Linked DNA regions of Homo sapiens: region 1 is linked to region 2. Evidence: promoter capture Hi-C in 16 types of primary human blood cells and fetal thymus (Javierre and others, 2016). All regions are on one chromosome and are shown on one strand. Each heading gives the region's core, a stretch centred on a gene start or on the middle of the fragment in contact. The rest is flanking DNA. Distances are from core to core; before and after follow the strand shown. Region 1 overlaps CLIP2 (CAP-Gly domain containing linker protein 2). Region 2 holds the start of TMEM270 (transmembrane protein 270).

Evidence for each region. Contacts are between HindIII fragments. The CHiCAGO score rates a contact against its expected background, and 5 or more counts as called.
Region 1: a contact is called between a fragment that was not itself captured here and the fragment with the promoter of TMEM270 in region 2, in 2 of 17 cell types (M1 macrophages and M2 macrophages). The highest score is 9.1, in M1 macrophages.

What each region holds. Positions count from the first base shown.
Region 1 is chr7:74,377,759-74,385,087 of GRCh38, reverse strand. CLIP2 (CAP-Gly domain containing linker protein 2) reads right to left here. Exons shown (of 17, transcript NM_003388.5): 11 at 4,225-4,282. Among named protein-coding and RNA genes, the nearest start is that of GTF2IRD1, 72 kb to the left of the region's middle. RefSeq lists a silencer at 1-229 and enhancers at 3,787-4,287, 4,288-4,788. The HindIII fragment of the contact is 8,624 bases long and covers 1,651-7,329 here.
Region 2 is chr7:73,857,161-73,864,297 of GRCh38, reverse strand. TMEM270 (transmembrane protein 270) reads right to left here and starts at 3,139. Exons shown (of 3, transcript NM_182504.4): 1 at 3,032-3,139. The coding sequence starts at 3,103. The HindIII fragment of the contact is 5,367 bases long and covers 1-3,305 here.

The DNA of each region.
Region 1 (7,329 bases), core at 4,713-7,212, 520 kb before region 2:
CCAGGCTGGACATGAACTTTTGACCTCAAGTGATCCACCCACCTCGGCCTCCCAAAGTGTTGGGATTATAGGCATGAGCCACCGCGCCTAGCCTAATTGTTTATTTTTTGAAGAGACAAGGTCTCACTATGTTTCCCAGGCTGGTGTTGAACTCCTAGGCTCAAGTGATCCTCCTGCCTCAGCCTCTTAAAGTCCTGGGATTACAGTGTGAGCCACTGCGCCCAGCCTGATTTAAAATTTTGGTGGAACTAGATGTGCCGATTCTAAGTCACTTATAAAAATGAGCAAGAATACCCAAGAGTTTGGCAGTTCCTCAAAAATTTAAACAGAATTACCATATGAGGCCAGGCGCGGTGGCTCACGCCTGTTATCCCAGCACTTCAGGAGGCCGAGGCAGGTGCATCGATTGAGGCCAGGAGTTCAAGACCAGTCTGGCCAACATTGCGAAACCCTGTCTCTACTAAAAATACAAAAATTAGCCAGGCGTGATGGCGCACACCTTTAATCCCAACTACTCAGGAGACTGAGGCAGGAGAATCGCTTGAACCTGGGAGGCGGAGGTTGCAGTGAGCCAAGATTGCACCACTGCACTCCAGCCTGGGTGACAGAGTGAGACTCCATCTCAAAAAAAAAAAAAAAAAAAAAATCATATGACCTAGCATTCTACTCTTCTAGGTATATACCCCAAAGCACTGAAAACAGGTACTTAACAAGTACATGCATATCTATGTTCTTAGCAGCATCATTCACAATAGCCAAAAGGTAGAAACAACCCAAATGCCCATCAGCTGAGGAATGGATCAACAAAATGCGGTATGTCCATACAATGGAATATCATTTGGCCACAAAAAAGAATGAGGTTCTTTTTTGTTTTGTTTTGTTGTCGTTGTTGTTGTTTGAGATGGAGTCTCACTCTGTCACCCAGGCAGGAGTGCAGTGGCGCGATCTTGGCTCACTGCAACCTCTGCCTCCCAGGTTCAAGTGATTCTCTCTGCCTCATCTTCCTGCGTAGCTGGGATTCCAGGCGCACACCACCACGCCCAGCTAATTTTTGTATTTTTAGTAGAGACTGGGTTTCACCATTTTGACCAGGCTGGTCTCGAACTCCTGACATGAAATGTTCCAAATAGATAAATCCACAGAGATAGAAAGTAAATTAGTGGTTGTGATGGGCTGGGGGGAGAGGAGGATGGAGAAGCACTGCTAGTGGGTATGGGTTCTCCTTTTGGGATGATGAGAATGTTTGTTTTCTCTTTATTTCTTTTTCTTTTCTTTTGTAGAGATGGGTTTTCGCCATGTTGTCCAGGCTGGTCTTGAACTCCTGACTTCAAGCAATTCTCCTGCCCGGGCCTCCCAAAGTGCTGGAATTACAGGTGTAAGCCACCAAATCCAGCCCATGAGAATGTTTTGGAAACCAGATAGAAGTGCTGGGTGTACTACATTGTTGACTGCGCTAAATGCCATTGAAGTGTTTGCTTTAAAATGGCTGATTGTATGTTATGTTAATTTTTTTCATTTGTTAATTTTATAACAAACCTGCACATGTCTATTTTATGTTAATTTCAGCTTAGTTTTTAAACAATAGCCAAGAGAATTTTGATAAAGCAGAGAAGAACAAGCCATGCCAGAAATTACAACATAGACAAAGCTTGACTAATTAAAACATTATAGAATTGGCACATGAAGAGAATAACAAGTCATTGGAATAGAACAAAAGTCCAGAAATAGAGTCAATTACATAAGTGAATTTAAGGACAATAAGGTTAGTAATTCCAATCAATGAGGGTTGGGGGGAGAAAATGACCATTTTCAAAAATAGTGTTGGGATAAGTGGGTATTCCTTTGGGAAAAAATAAAAATGGATCCTTATCTCACACTTATATAAGGATGAATTCTAGATGGATCAGAGATTTCAGCATAGAAAATAGGACAGAAAAGTACCAGAAGAAACCACTGGATACATTTTTTAAACTAAAAAAGAATTGATTTTTTTTTTTTTTTTTTTTTGGTGACAGGGTCTCACTCTATTGCTCAGGCTGGAGTGCAGTGGCATGATCGTAGCTCACTGCAGCCTCCACTTCCTGGGCTCAAGAGATCCTCCCGCCTCACCTTCCCAAGTATCTGGGACTATAGCTGCATGCCACCATACCTGGCTAATTTTTGGAGGGGGGTATTTTTTGTAGAGACAGGGTCTCACTATGTTGCCCAGGCTGGTCTTGAACTCCTGGGCTCAAGCAATACTCCTAACTCAGCCTCCCAAAGTGCTGGGATTACAAGTGTGAGCCACCATACCTGGCCTGATTTTTTAAATATCTGCATGGCCAACACCACCATAAGAAAAAAGTAAAAAGGCAAATGACAAAGTGGGGAAAATGTCTGCAATGTCATACATAAAGAGCTTCTAAAAATCAGCAAAAAGATCAATAACCCAATCAGAAAAAAATGGTCAAAAGACACAAATAGAAATGCAAATAGAAGCCGGGCATGGTGGCTCATGCCTGTAATCCCAGCACTTTGGGAGACCAAGGCGGGAGGATCATGAGGTCAGGAGTTTGAGACCAGCCTGGCCAACATAGTGAAACTCCATCTCTACTAAAAAAAAAAAAAAAAAAAAAATTAGCAGGGCATGGTGGCATGCACGTGTAGTCCCAGCTACTCAGGAGGCTGAGGCAGGAGAATTGCTTGAACCTGGGAGGTGGAGGTTGTGGTGAGCTGAGATCGTGCCACTGCACTCCAGCCTGGGCAACAGAGTGAGACTCTGTCTTAAAAAAAAAAAAAAAAAAGACCAGCCCCAACATGGAGAAACCCCGTCTCTACTAAAAAAAAAAATACAAAAATTAGCCAGGCGTGGTGGTGCATGCCTGTAATCCCAGCTACTCAGGAGGCTGAGGCAGGAGAATTGCTTGAACCTGGGAGGCGGAGGTTGCAGTGAACTGAGATCGCATCATTGCACTCCAGCCTGGGCAACAAGGGTGAAACTCCGTCTCAAAAAAAAAATGCAAATAGAAATACCTCTTAACTTCATCCACATAAGAGAAAGGTGAGTTGAAGTTACACCTTTTACCTTTCAGATTGGCAAAGATCACAAAGTCTGATCAAACGTTTTGTTGATGGGAGTTTGAGGGGAAACAGGTTTTCAACCACAGCTGGTGGGAATTAAAATTGGTTGAGCCCAATGGAAGTCAAGGTAATTTTCTACAGTGGTGTTTGTAATTGACCAAGACTGGAAACAGTCTACCATCTTTGTAACTGACCAAGACTGGAAACAATCTGTGATTGTTATCGGAAACCAGCTAAATACACAATGGTACCTCCACACAATGGAATATTCTGTACCCTGTAAAAGAATGTACTACTGATAAGGAACCCTCTCCAAGATACATTGTTAAATGGAATAAATGAAGGAGCTGAAAGAATGGAAGATATGGTACCATTTGTGTCACTTGCTTGCTCGTACCTGCACAAAATATTTCTGGAAAGGGGATATAAAGAAGCTAACACTGCGCCTTCAGGGAGGGAAGAATAGAGAACAGTGAAGAGTTAGTTTGCCATATGCCCTTTGAACCATTTGAAGTTTAGACCTGTTTTTAAAGTTTAAACCAGCTAGGCACGGTGGCTCATGCCTGTAATCCCAACACTTCGGGAGGCCAAGGCGGGCGGATCACGCAGTCAGGAGATCGAGACCACCCTGGTCAACATGGTGAAACCCCGTCTCTACTAAAAATACAAAAATTAGCTGGGCATGGTGGTGCATGCCTGTAATCCCAGCTACTCGGGAGGCTGAGGCAGGAGAATCGCTTGAACCAGGGAGTTGGAGGTTGCAGTGAGCTGAGATCACACCACTGTACTCCAGCCTGGCGACAGAGCGAAACTCCGTCTAAAATAAATAAATAAATAAAAGTAAAGTATAAACTAAATAAATAAATAAAAATAAAATATAAACCAAACAAATAATAAGGTTTGATATTCCATTAAGTTTACTATTCCGTTAAATCTGTTTCAAAAGAAAAAGAAAAAAAAGACAGCAACTTGGAAGGCTGGTGCAATGCCTATCCCTCCGTAAACTGGCCTCCTCCCTTGCAGGAGTACATAGCTCACAGCACACAGGAGGTGACTCTTACCAAATGGCAGATGATGCAAACCAAAATGTGACCCAGCAGGAAGGCAGAGCCAGCCAGCCTCTTCCCAGAGCCCAGAGTCCCGCCCGGCCTGGTGGCCACTCACCCTCCACAGTTTCCTTCGTCCTGATCGTCTCCTCTGAAATGTCATTCGACTCAATCATCTGCAAAAAGAGCCCCTGTAAGGGGGATGCTCACCTCTGCCCCTTGGCCCCAGCCCCAGCCAGCCCAGCAAGCACACCTGCAGTTTGCACACCCTACTCCTACAAAGGGGGACCTCAGTGACGGACTCAGGGACTTGCTGCGGTGGCAGGGAGTGCAGACGTCCTCAGTCGGACCTCCCTGACAACAGAGGACCCCCATTCTGCACCCAGCTCTGCTGAAGGCCGCCTGTGCAGCTTATACATGAATACCTCCTACCCTTCCTTTGTTGAAAATGTTTATTATATTAAACAGATGGCTCCTTCCCTGCAATGCCTACAGAAATTTGTCCTGGGAATTTGTTTCTCTGTCTCCCAGAGACAAGACTTCTGGCCTCAGTTTCCCATCCATCAAACAAATATTGGCTGCTTTGGGTTAGTGTGTGCACAGCGTGCTTGGGGCCACCTCCTGGAGGGACTTCATTAAATGCTAGCTTCTTTCTCTCCAACATTTCTTTTTAATAATAAACCCAGAGGCCAAAGAAGAAAAGACCTATTAAAAAAAAAAATCAGCCTGGCACACATCACTATGACAAAAGTCAAAACACAACCAATAGGCTCCCTGCCACTCTTGGCAGGAGTTTCCAGTCTCCTGCCCAGGCTGGCTGTCCTCCGAGCCAGCCAGAGTCTGGCACTGCAGATCAGGGAAGCACAGAGCTGAGTAGGCAGTCACCTCTATCATCCTGCCCCTCATACTTCTGTTCATACATCCCAAGTCCCATTTGAGTCTCAATTAGTTGTAATGAACTAAGCCCCTTGGATCATAATTTATATACGATGCAGTAATGAGGCTCACACTAAATTTTTCTTTTTCTTTTTTTTTGAGAAGGAGTCTCGCCCTGATATCCAGGCTAGAGTGCAATGGCTCAATCTCAGCTCACTGCAACCTCCACCTCCCGGGTTCAAGCGATTCTCCTGCCTCGGCCTCCCGAGCGAGTAGCTGGGATTACAGGTGCCCACCACCACGCCCAGCTAATTTTGGGGTTTTTTTATTATTATTTTTTGAGATGGAGTCTCACTCCGTCGCCCAGGCTGGAGTGCAGTGGCGTGATCTCGGCTCACTGCAACCTCTGCCTCCAGGACTCTGAAGCGATTCTCCTGCCTCAGCCTCCCGAGTAGCTGGGACTACAGGCGCCCGCCACCATGCCCGGCTAATTTTTTGTATTTTTAGTAGAGACGGGTTTTCACCATGTTGGCCAGGCTGGTCTCAAACTCCTGACCTCAGGTGATCCACCTGCCTTGGCATCCCAAAGTGCTGGGATTACAGGTGTGAGCCACAGCACCTGGCCACTAAAATAATTTTTAAAATTCCCATATTTACTACCTGAGACCAAAAGTCCAGTTGTGCTTAGGCCTAAACCTCTGAACATGGGGACATATGCGTTTAGACTAAGCCCCAGTGTATACAGAAAATCAAGAGATGGGCTTTTTTTTTTTTTTCCAGACGGAGTCTCCCTCTGTTGCCCAGGCCGGAGTGCAGTGGCACGATCTTGGCTCACTGCAACCTCCACGTCCCGGGTTCAAGTAATCCTTGTGCCTCAGCCTCCTGAGTAGCTGGGATTACAGGTGTGAGCCACCGCGCCCGGCCAGGAGATGGGCTTTCTGGGGCCACTACTACTTCTTGGTCCAAGGGCACCTGTGAATGAGGGGCAGGGACTGGGGGAGGCATCCTCAGGCCTCTGTCCCCCATGCTCTGTGGAACCACAGCAACCTCAAACCTCCCCGCTCAGGGAATTCAGTTCCTGAGTTGCAGGCTGTTTCTGCCTGCCCTGAACAGCTAATCAGGCCATGTGCACGTAAGCTAATTTGGGTTTCTTCCTTTTCTTTCAGCCCAGGATCCTGGAAGAGCACTTGCTAAAAAACAAAATCCCTTCCTGGGAGAAGGGGCAGGAAGGCCATTACAAGGGACCTCAAGGCATGATGCAAAAAGATTTCCTTTTAGACAAAAAAAGCCCCCTGGATTCATTAGTCCTGAGAACTTACTGCCCACATGCTAAATTCTCGGGTTTTTTTGGTTTGTGTATTTTCTTGAGTCACAGCCTCACACTGTCACTCAGGCTGGAGTGCAGTGGTGCAATCATAGCTCACTGCAGCCTCAAACACCTGGGCTCAAGTGATCCTCTTGCCTCAGCCTCCAGCGTAGCTGGGGACTACAGGTACACTACCACTGTACTCGGCTAATTTTTTATTTTTGTAGAGATGGGGTCTAACTATGTTGTCCAGGCTGGTCTCAAACTCCTGGCCTGAAGCAATCCTCCTGCCTCAGCCTCTCGAAATGCTGGAATTATAGGTGTGAGCCACCACACCCACCCCTAAATTCTGGTTTGAATATACATGAGGGTGGTCAGGTGCAGTACCTACTCCCTGTAATCCCAGCACTTTGGGAGGCAAAGGCGGGCAGACAGCTTGAGCCCAGGAGTTTGAGACCAGCCTGGGCAACATGAGGAAACCCCATCTCTACAAAAACTATAAAAATTAGCCAGGTGTGGTGGGGCACACCTGTGGTCCTGGCGACTTGGAAGGCTGAAGTGGGAGGCTCGCTCAAGCCTGGGAGGTTGAGACTGTAGTGAGCCATGATCATGCCACTGCACTCCAGCCTGGGAGACAGAACAAGACCCTGTCTCAAAAACAAAACCAAAAAAAAGGCCAGGGATGGTGCCTCACGCCTGTAATCCCAGCACTTTGGGAGGCCGAGGCGGGCAGATCACCTGAAGTCAGGAGTTTGAGACCAGCCTGGACTACCTGGCGAAACCCCACCTCTACTAAAAATATAAGAATTAGCTGGGCGTGGTGGTGCATGCCTGTAATTGCAGCTACTTGGGAGGCTGATACAGGAGAATTGCTTGAACCTGGGAGGCGGAGGTTGCAGTGAGCCGAGATCCCACCACTGCACTCCAGCCTGGGCAACAAGAGCAAAACTCCATCTCAAAAAAAAAAAAAATGTATGTGGGGGAACTGGAAACTCAAGAATCTCTGAGTACAATTTGTATACAGGCAAGAGTCCGTTGCTA
Region 2 (7,137 bases), core at 1,890-4,389:
ATGCCACCATGCCTGGCTAATTTTTTTTTTTTTTTTTTTAAGAAATGGAGTCTTCTTATTATGCCTGGGCTGGTCTTGAACTCATAGGCTCAAGCAATCCTCCCCCCATTAGCCTCCCAAGTAGCTGGAGCTATAGGTGCATCTCACTAAGTCCAGCTAATTTTTTTTTTTTTTTTTTTTTTTGTAGAGGCGGGGTCTTGCTATGTTATCCAGGCTGGTTTCGAACTCCTGGCCTCAAGCAATCCTCCTGCCTCAGCCTCCCAAAGTGCTGGGATTGCAGGCATGAGCCACTATACCTGGCCTCCATTGGATTTAAATGATTATTTACAATACTCCAGACTGAAGGAGGTTTCATGGCTATTATTACCATGTTACGATCCCCCACCCCAATCCTGTGGGCTTTGAACCCAGGTCACTTGTCTTCTTCCAAGTAGCTGGGCTTTGCCTCTGTACCAGTTGTCCCCTGGCATCAGGAGGGCTGCTGGGGCAAAGGACAATGCCATTAGGGGCAGGGAGGCGTGAGAGACATGGGGCAGGGGTCACATAATTCACGACAGACCTAATGAGAAGGGTGAAGGAGAGAGATCCAGAAAGACTTCCAGATTTCCAGCCGGACATGGTGGCTCACACCTGTAATCCCAGCACTCTGGGAGGCCGAAGCAGACGGATCACCTGAGGTCAAGATTTCGAGACCAGCCTGGTCAACCTGGTGAAACCCCATCTCTACTAAAAATACAAAAATTAGCTGGGCATGATGGTGCATGCCTGTAATCCCAGCTACTCGGGAGGCTGAGGCAGGAGAATTGCTTGAACCCAGGAGGCGGAGGTTGCAGTTTGCCCAGATCGTGCCACTGCACTCCAGCCTGGGTAACAGAGTGAGACTCCATCTCAAAAAAAAAAAAAAAGAATTCCAGATTTCTGATCTGGGTGGTGAGTTGGACAACGGTGTCTCCCATTCACTGAGATGAAGCTGCAGGACTGGGGTGAGGTGGGGGAAAGCTGTTCTTGAGTCCTGGAGACCCTTCATCAGAGCTGGAAAGCCCCCAGCCCTTGAGTGACACCAATCCACCCACCTGGACCCCCCATCCCCGTGTCCACAGGCCCCACCATCTGAGATTGGCTGCAAGACCCCCCACTCACGGGCTGGATTTGCAGAGCTTGGGACGTGGAGGGTGGAGCTATGCTGAGACCAAAGGGTCCAGCAGGGAGAAGAATTAGGGTAGAGCTAGGAAATAGGACCTCCCAGGTTATGGTGCTGAGACCAGGGAGGAGGGAAACCTATGATATCCCACATGATCCCACAAGATCATTTCTATAGGAGAGGAAACGGGCTCAGAGTGGTGAAGTGATTTGCCCAAATTCACACAGCTAGAGGGTAAAACAGCCAAGATGCAAATCTTTTTTTTTTTTTTTTTTTTTTTTTTTCTGAGACAGGGTTTTGCTCTTGTTGCCCAGGGTTGCCCAGGCTGGAGTGCAATGGTGGGATCTCGGCTCACCGCAACCTCCGCCTCCCAGGTTCAAGCGATTCTCCTGCCTCAGCCTCTTGAGTAGCTGGGATTACAGGCATGCACCACCACGCGTGGCTAATTTTGTATTTTTAGTAGAGACAAGGTTTCTTCATGTTAGTCAGGCTGGTCTGGAACTCCTGACCTCAGGTGATCTGCCCGCCTCGGCCTCCCAAAGTGCTGGGATTACAGGTGTGAGCCACAGCTCCCGGTCCCAAGATGCAAATCTAATGGTGTCTGTCTTTCTCAACTGCCCCCTGTTATATGATCTTGGCTGACTGCAGCCTTGGCCTCCCAGGCTCAATCTATACTCCCACCTCGGCCTCCTAAGTGTGACTGAGTTGTGACCCCGACCACAAGCATGTGTATGTTTAAAAGAGATGAATGGGCCAGGTGCGGTGGCTCACACCTGTAATCCCAGAACTTTGGGAGGCCGAGGTGGGTGGATTACGAGGTCAGGAGTTTGAGACCAGCCTGGCCAATGCGGTGAAACCCTGTCTCTACTAAAGATACAAAAAATTAGCTGGGCGTGGTGGCGCACGCCTGTAATCCCAGCTACTTGGAAGGCTGAGGCAGGAGAATTGCTTGAACCTGGAGGTGGAAGTTGCAGTGAGCCGAGATCGCACCATTACACTGCAGCCTGCGCGACAGGGCAAGACTGCATCTGAAAAAAAAAAAAAGAGAGAGAGATGAATGAGCCAGGCGCAGTGGCTTATGTCTGTAATCCCAGCACTTTGGGGAGCTGAGGCGGGCAGATCACAAGGTCAGGAGATCGAGACCATCCTGGCTAACAGGGTCTCTACTAAAAATACAAAAAAAAAAAAAAATTAGCCAGGGATGATGGCACGTGCCTGTAGTCCCAGCTACTTGGGAGGCTGAGGCAGAAGAACTGCTTGAACCCAGGAGGCAGAGGTTGCAGTGAGCCGAGATCGCACCACTGCACTCCAGCCTGGGCAACAGAGCGAGACTCTGTCTCAAAAAAAAGAAAAAATGAATGGGAAAAACAATGATTCACCCATAGGAGTGACCCTCAATAGAGAAAATGCTGCCAGGTGCGGTGGCTCACACCTATAATCCCAGCACCTCAGGAAGCTGAGGTAGGAGGATCATGTGAGGCCAAGAGTTGGAGACCCGCCTGGGCAACGTAGTGAGACACCATCTCTACAAAATACAAAAATTAGTCAGGCGTGGTGGTGCACACCTATAGTCCCGGCTACTTGGAGGCTGAGGGGGGAGGATTGCTTGAGACCGGGAGTTGGAGGCTGCAACGAGCTGAGCCGGCACCACTGCGCTCCAGGCTGGGCGACAGAGCGAGACCCTGTCTCTAAATAAAGAAAAGAAAAGAAAATGTCAGCACTGTAGTTTGGAGTGGGGCTTCTGGGAGATGTCAGATTATTCTGGAAGGCAGGCAGCCACCTCGTTCCACTGGATGGGACAGGCAGGGCTTGGGCCCGGCAGCTCTGAGGTGGCTCTGTGAAGGGCCTGGTGTGTGGTCCCCACCCCACTTACCCCCAGCCCCCACTCACCAGCACTGAGAGCCTCGTAACCTGCAACAGGATCCCCAAAAGGCTGGATCTGACTGGAGGAAGGGCCTCCATGTCTGGCCTCCCCCACCTACTCCAGCTGGGAGAAGCAGGGTGACCTCACAGATGCCACAGGGTGGGGACCAAGTTACCATGGGGACCCGGTTGCCGCCAGTGACCCACTGCCTTTACCTGGCTCCTGCCGCTCCACTGCTTCCTCTGAAACCTCAGTCCACGTCTGAGCCCAACACGGCCAAGGAGGTCTTAGAGCAAAGCTTCCTTCGGGTCGGATTTCCCCAGATCTTGGAACAGGAATCAAGTGCCGCCTAGGAACGGGGTTCATGCCTGGATTCCCAATGCTTTGGGAGGCCAAGGTAGGAGGATCGCTTGAGGCCAGGAGTTTGAGACCAGCATGGGCAACATAGCAAGACCCTGTCTTACAAAAAAACAAAAAAAGAAAAAAATTAACCAGCCTTGGTCATGCACACCTGTAGTCCCAACTACTCAGGAGTCTAAAGTGGGAGAATCGCTTGAGCCCAGGAGATAGAAGTTGCAGTGAGCCAGGATCACTCAAGCCTGGGTGACAGAGCAAGACCCTATCTCTAAACAAAGAAAAAAAATTGAAGGGTGATGAGTTTATTTGGGGAGTGGGCCCTGCAAGCATCCATAGGAAGTCAGAAAGTGAGGCAAGGGGCCAGGCACAGTGGCTCACACCTGTAATCCCAGCACTTTGGAAGGCCGAGGCAGGCAGATCACGAGGTCAGGAGTTTGAGACCTGTTGGGAACAGGCCCCCAAAATCTGGCCATAAACTGGCCCCAAAACTGGCCATAAACAAAATCTCTGCAGCACTGTGACATGTTCGTGATGGCCATGACACCCACGGTGGAAGGTTGTGGGTTTACCGGAATGAGGGCAAGGAACACCTGGCCCACCCAGGGCGGAAAACTGCTTAAAGGCGTTCTTAAACCACAAACAAGAGCATGAGTGATCTGTGCCTTAAGGACATGCTCCTGCTGCAGATAACTAGCCAAACACATCCCTTTATTTGGGCCCAATCCCTTTGTTTCCCATAAGGGATACTTCTATGGGAATCTAATCTAATCTATAGTTAATCTAATATCTATAGAAACAATGCTAATGACTGGCTTGCTGTTAATAAATACGTGGGTAAATCTCCGTTTGAGGCTCTCAGCTCTGAAGGCTGTGAGACCCCCTGATTTCCCACTTCACACCTCTTTATTTCTCTGTGTGTGTGTGTGTGTGTGTGTGTGTGTGTGTGTGTGTTTAATTCCTCTAGTGCTGCTGGGTTAGGGTCTCCCCAGCCAAGCTGGTCTCAGCAGAGACCAGCCTGACCAACATGGTGAAACCCCGTCTCTACTAAAAATACAAAAAAAAAAAAAAATTGGCCTGGCATGGTGGCGTGCACCTATAATCTCAGCTGCTCAGGAGGCTGAGGCAGGAGAATTGCTTGAACCCAGAAGGCAGAGGTTGCAGTGAGCTGAGATCATGCCACTGTACTCCAGCCTGGGCAAGAGAGTGAGACTCTGTGATAAAAAGAGGGAAGGGGAGGGGAGGGGAGGGGAGGGGGAGAGAGAGAGAGAGAGAAAGAAAGAAAGAAGAAAGAAAGAAAAAGAAAGAAAGAGAAAGAAAAAGAAGGAAAGAAAGAAAGAGAAAGAAAAGAAAGAAAAAGAGAGAAAGAAAAAGAAAGAAAGAAAGAAAAAGGAAGGAAGGAAAGAAAAGAAAGAGAAAGAAAAGAAAGAGAGGCAAGGACAGATGAGTTCATGAGCAGGGTTTGAGTTCAGACAACCGGGGCTGATCCCCAAAATCCCCTGGAAAATGGTGCAGAACGCACCTCAGAGTCACCCCACCCAAGGAGCATGAATACTGGGGTATTTATCTTCCATGACCTGTCTGCTTCCTGTTGGACATTAACTCCCGCTGAACCTCCAATCTTACCAGCACAAACACCAGAGAAAGCCCTCCAGCAGATGGTCGGGTGGGGGTCTTGCAGCAGGCGGCTCAAGCAGTGTGCATGGAAACTAAGGCAGAGGACTCTGGGGTAGGGACAGCAAAAAGGAATCCAGAACAAATAAACCCCTAGACATGTGATGATGGGAGCCTTGACCAGGGCTGAGGCCCTGGAAATGGAGACAACAGATGCCAGAAATCTGTAGCAGGTACAACAGATAGAATTGGAGGATGTCAAGACCCACGATGATCTGAGACGTTGCCCAATTTCATGCTAACAAGTTAGCCAACCAGAGCTCCACAGCTGCCACAGGAAGACATGAGACTCCCAGGTCAGAGATCAAAGACAATGTTACTCATGGCAATAGCAGTGAACTAGGTTATAAGCATTTTCCATTCATTCCTTGAGCTCCAAATCCCACAGGGTGATATGACAAGGGCCAGATGATGCCTGGCAGTATCTGAGGTGGGTGTGTTACAGGAGAGGTGGCTTGAGTTTAGGGAACCCAAATCTTTTCTTTTCTTTTTTTTTTTTTTTTTTTTTTTTTGAGATGGAGTCTTGCTCTGTCACCCAGTGCAGTGGTACAATCTCGGCTCACTGCAACCTCCACTTCCCGGGTTCAAGCAATTCTCCTGCCTCAGCCTCCCAAGTAGCTGGGATTATAGGCGCCTACCACCATACCCGGCTACTTTTTTGTATTTTTAGTAGAGACAGGGTTTCTCCAGCTTGGCCAGGCTGGTCTCAGACTCCTAACCTCAGGTGATGCACCCGCCAGCGCCTCCCAAAGTGCTGGGATTACAGGTGGGAGCCACCTCGCCCAGCCTTCTTTTTTTCTTTTTTTGAGATGGAGTCTCACTCTGTCGCCCAGGCTGGAGTGCAGTGGCACCATCTCCACTCGCCGCAACTTCCGCCTCCCAGGTTCAAGCAATTCTCCTGCCTCAGCCTCCCGAGTAGCTGGGATTACAGGCTCGCACCACCAAGCCCAGCTAATTTTTGTATTTTTAGTAGGGATGGGGTTTCACCATATTGGCCAGGCTGGTCTCGAACTCCTGACCTCAGGTGATCCGCCTGCCAGCGCCTCCCAAAGTGCTGGGATTACAGGCATGAGTCACCGCGCCTGGCCAGGAAACCCAAATCTTTTCTAATGTGCAGTAAGCAGGGCTGCCTTTTGCCCCAGAAGGAGACATTATGTCTTCCAAGGTTGTCTGATATACAGATATCCTAGAAAAGAAAGTCCAGGGCAAAAGGCAATCCATTAGTGCCTCACTCACAAGACATACAGAAATGTGAAAGACACATAGACAGAGGCATCCCAACAGAGGAATGAACAGGAAAAGAAGTAAAGCGAGACAGGGGTCAGGGATACCCCCAACCCAGAAGACTTGAGTGAAAGGCAGAAAGTAGCGCTGCCCACCAAGTGGGGGCGGGGAAGAGAAGGAGTAGGTTTGGGGAGAGAGGCAAAGGGATTGCTGGGGGTCAGAAGGTGGTGGCTGAGCCGGGTGCAGTGGCTCACTCCTGTAATCCTAGCACTTTCAGAGGCCAAAGCAGGTGGATCACTTGAGGCCAGGAGTTCAAGACCAGCCTGGGCAGCATGATGAAACCTGGTCTCTACCAAAAATATAAAAATTAGCTGGGTGTAGTGGTGCATCCCTGTAATCCCAGCTACTCAGGAGGCTGAGGCAAGAGAATCTCTTGAACCCGGGAGGCAGAGGTTGCAGTAAGCCGAGATCAGGCAACTGCACTCCAGCCTGGGTGACAGAGCAAGACTCCATCTCAAAAAAAAAAAAGAAGGGAAGGAAGGAAGGAAGGAAGGAAGGAAGGAAGGAAGGAAGGAAGGAGGGAGGGAGGGAGAAAAGAAAAGAAAAGAAAGAGAGGTGGCTGAGACTGGGATTTGCAGTTTGTTTTCCCTCCTCTCTTTGGTTTGCCACCACCATCACCTGGTATCCCTGTCCCCAGAACTCCACTGCCACAGAGGCTGAGCTGATATCTCCAGCCTCATACTGACCACACTCCCCGTGGTCAGTGTGGGAGCTAGAGCAGAAGAGACCTCACTCTGTCCCACAGCCCCTATGGGCAGCCCCATGGGAATGCTAGGCACATGTCTCAGTCCCAGCTCTAGTCACCTGCCCTTCCCTGCCC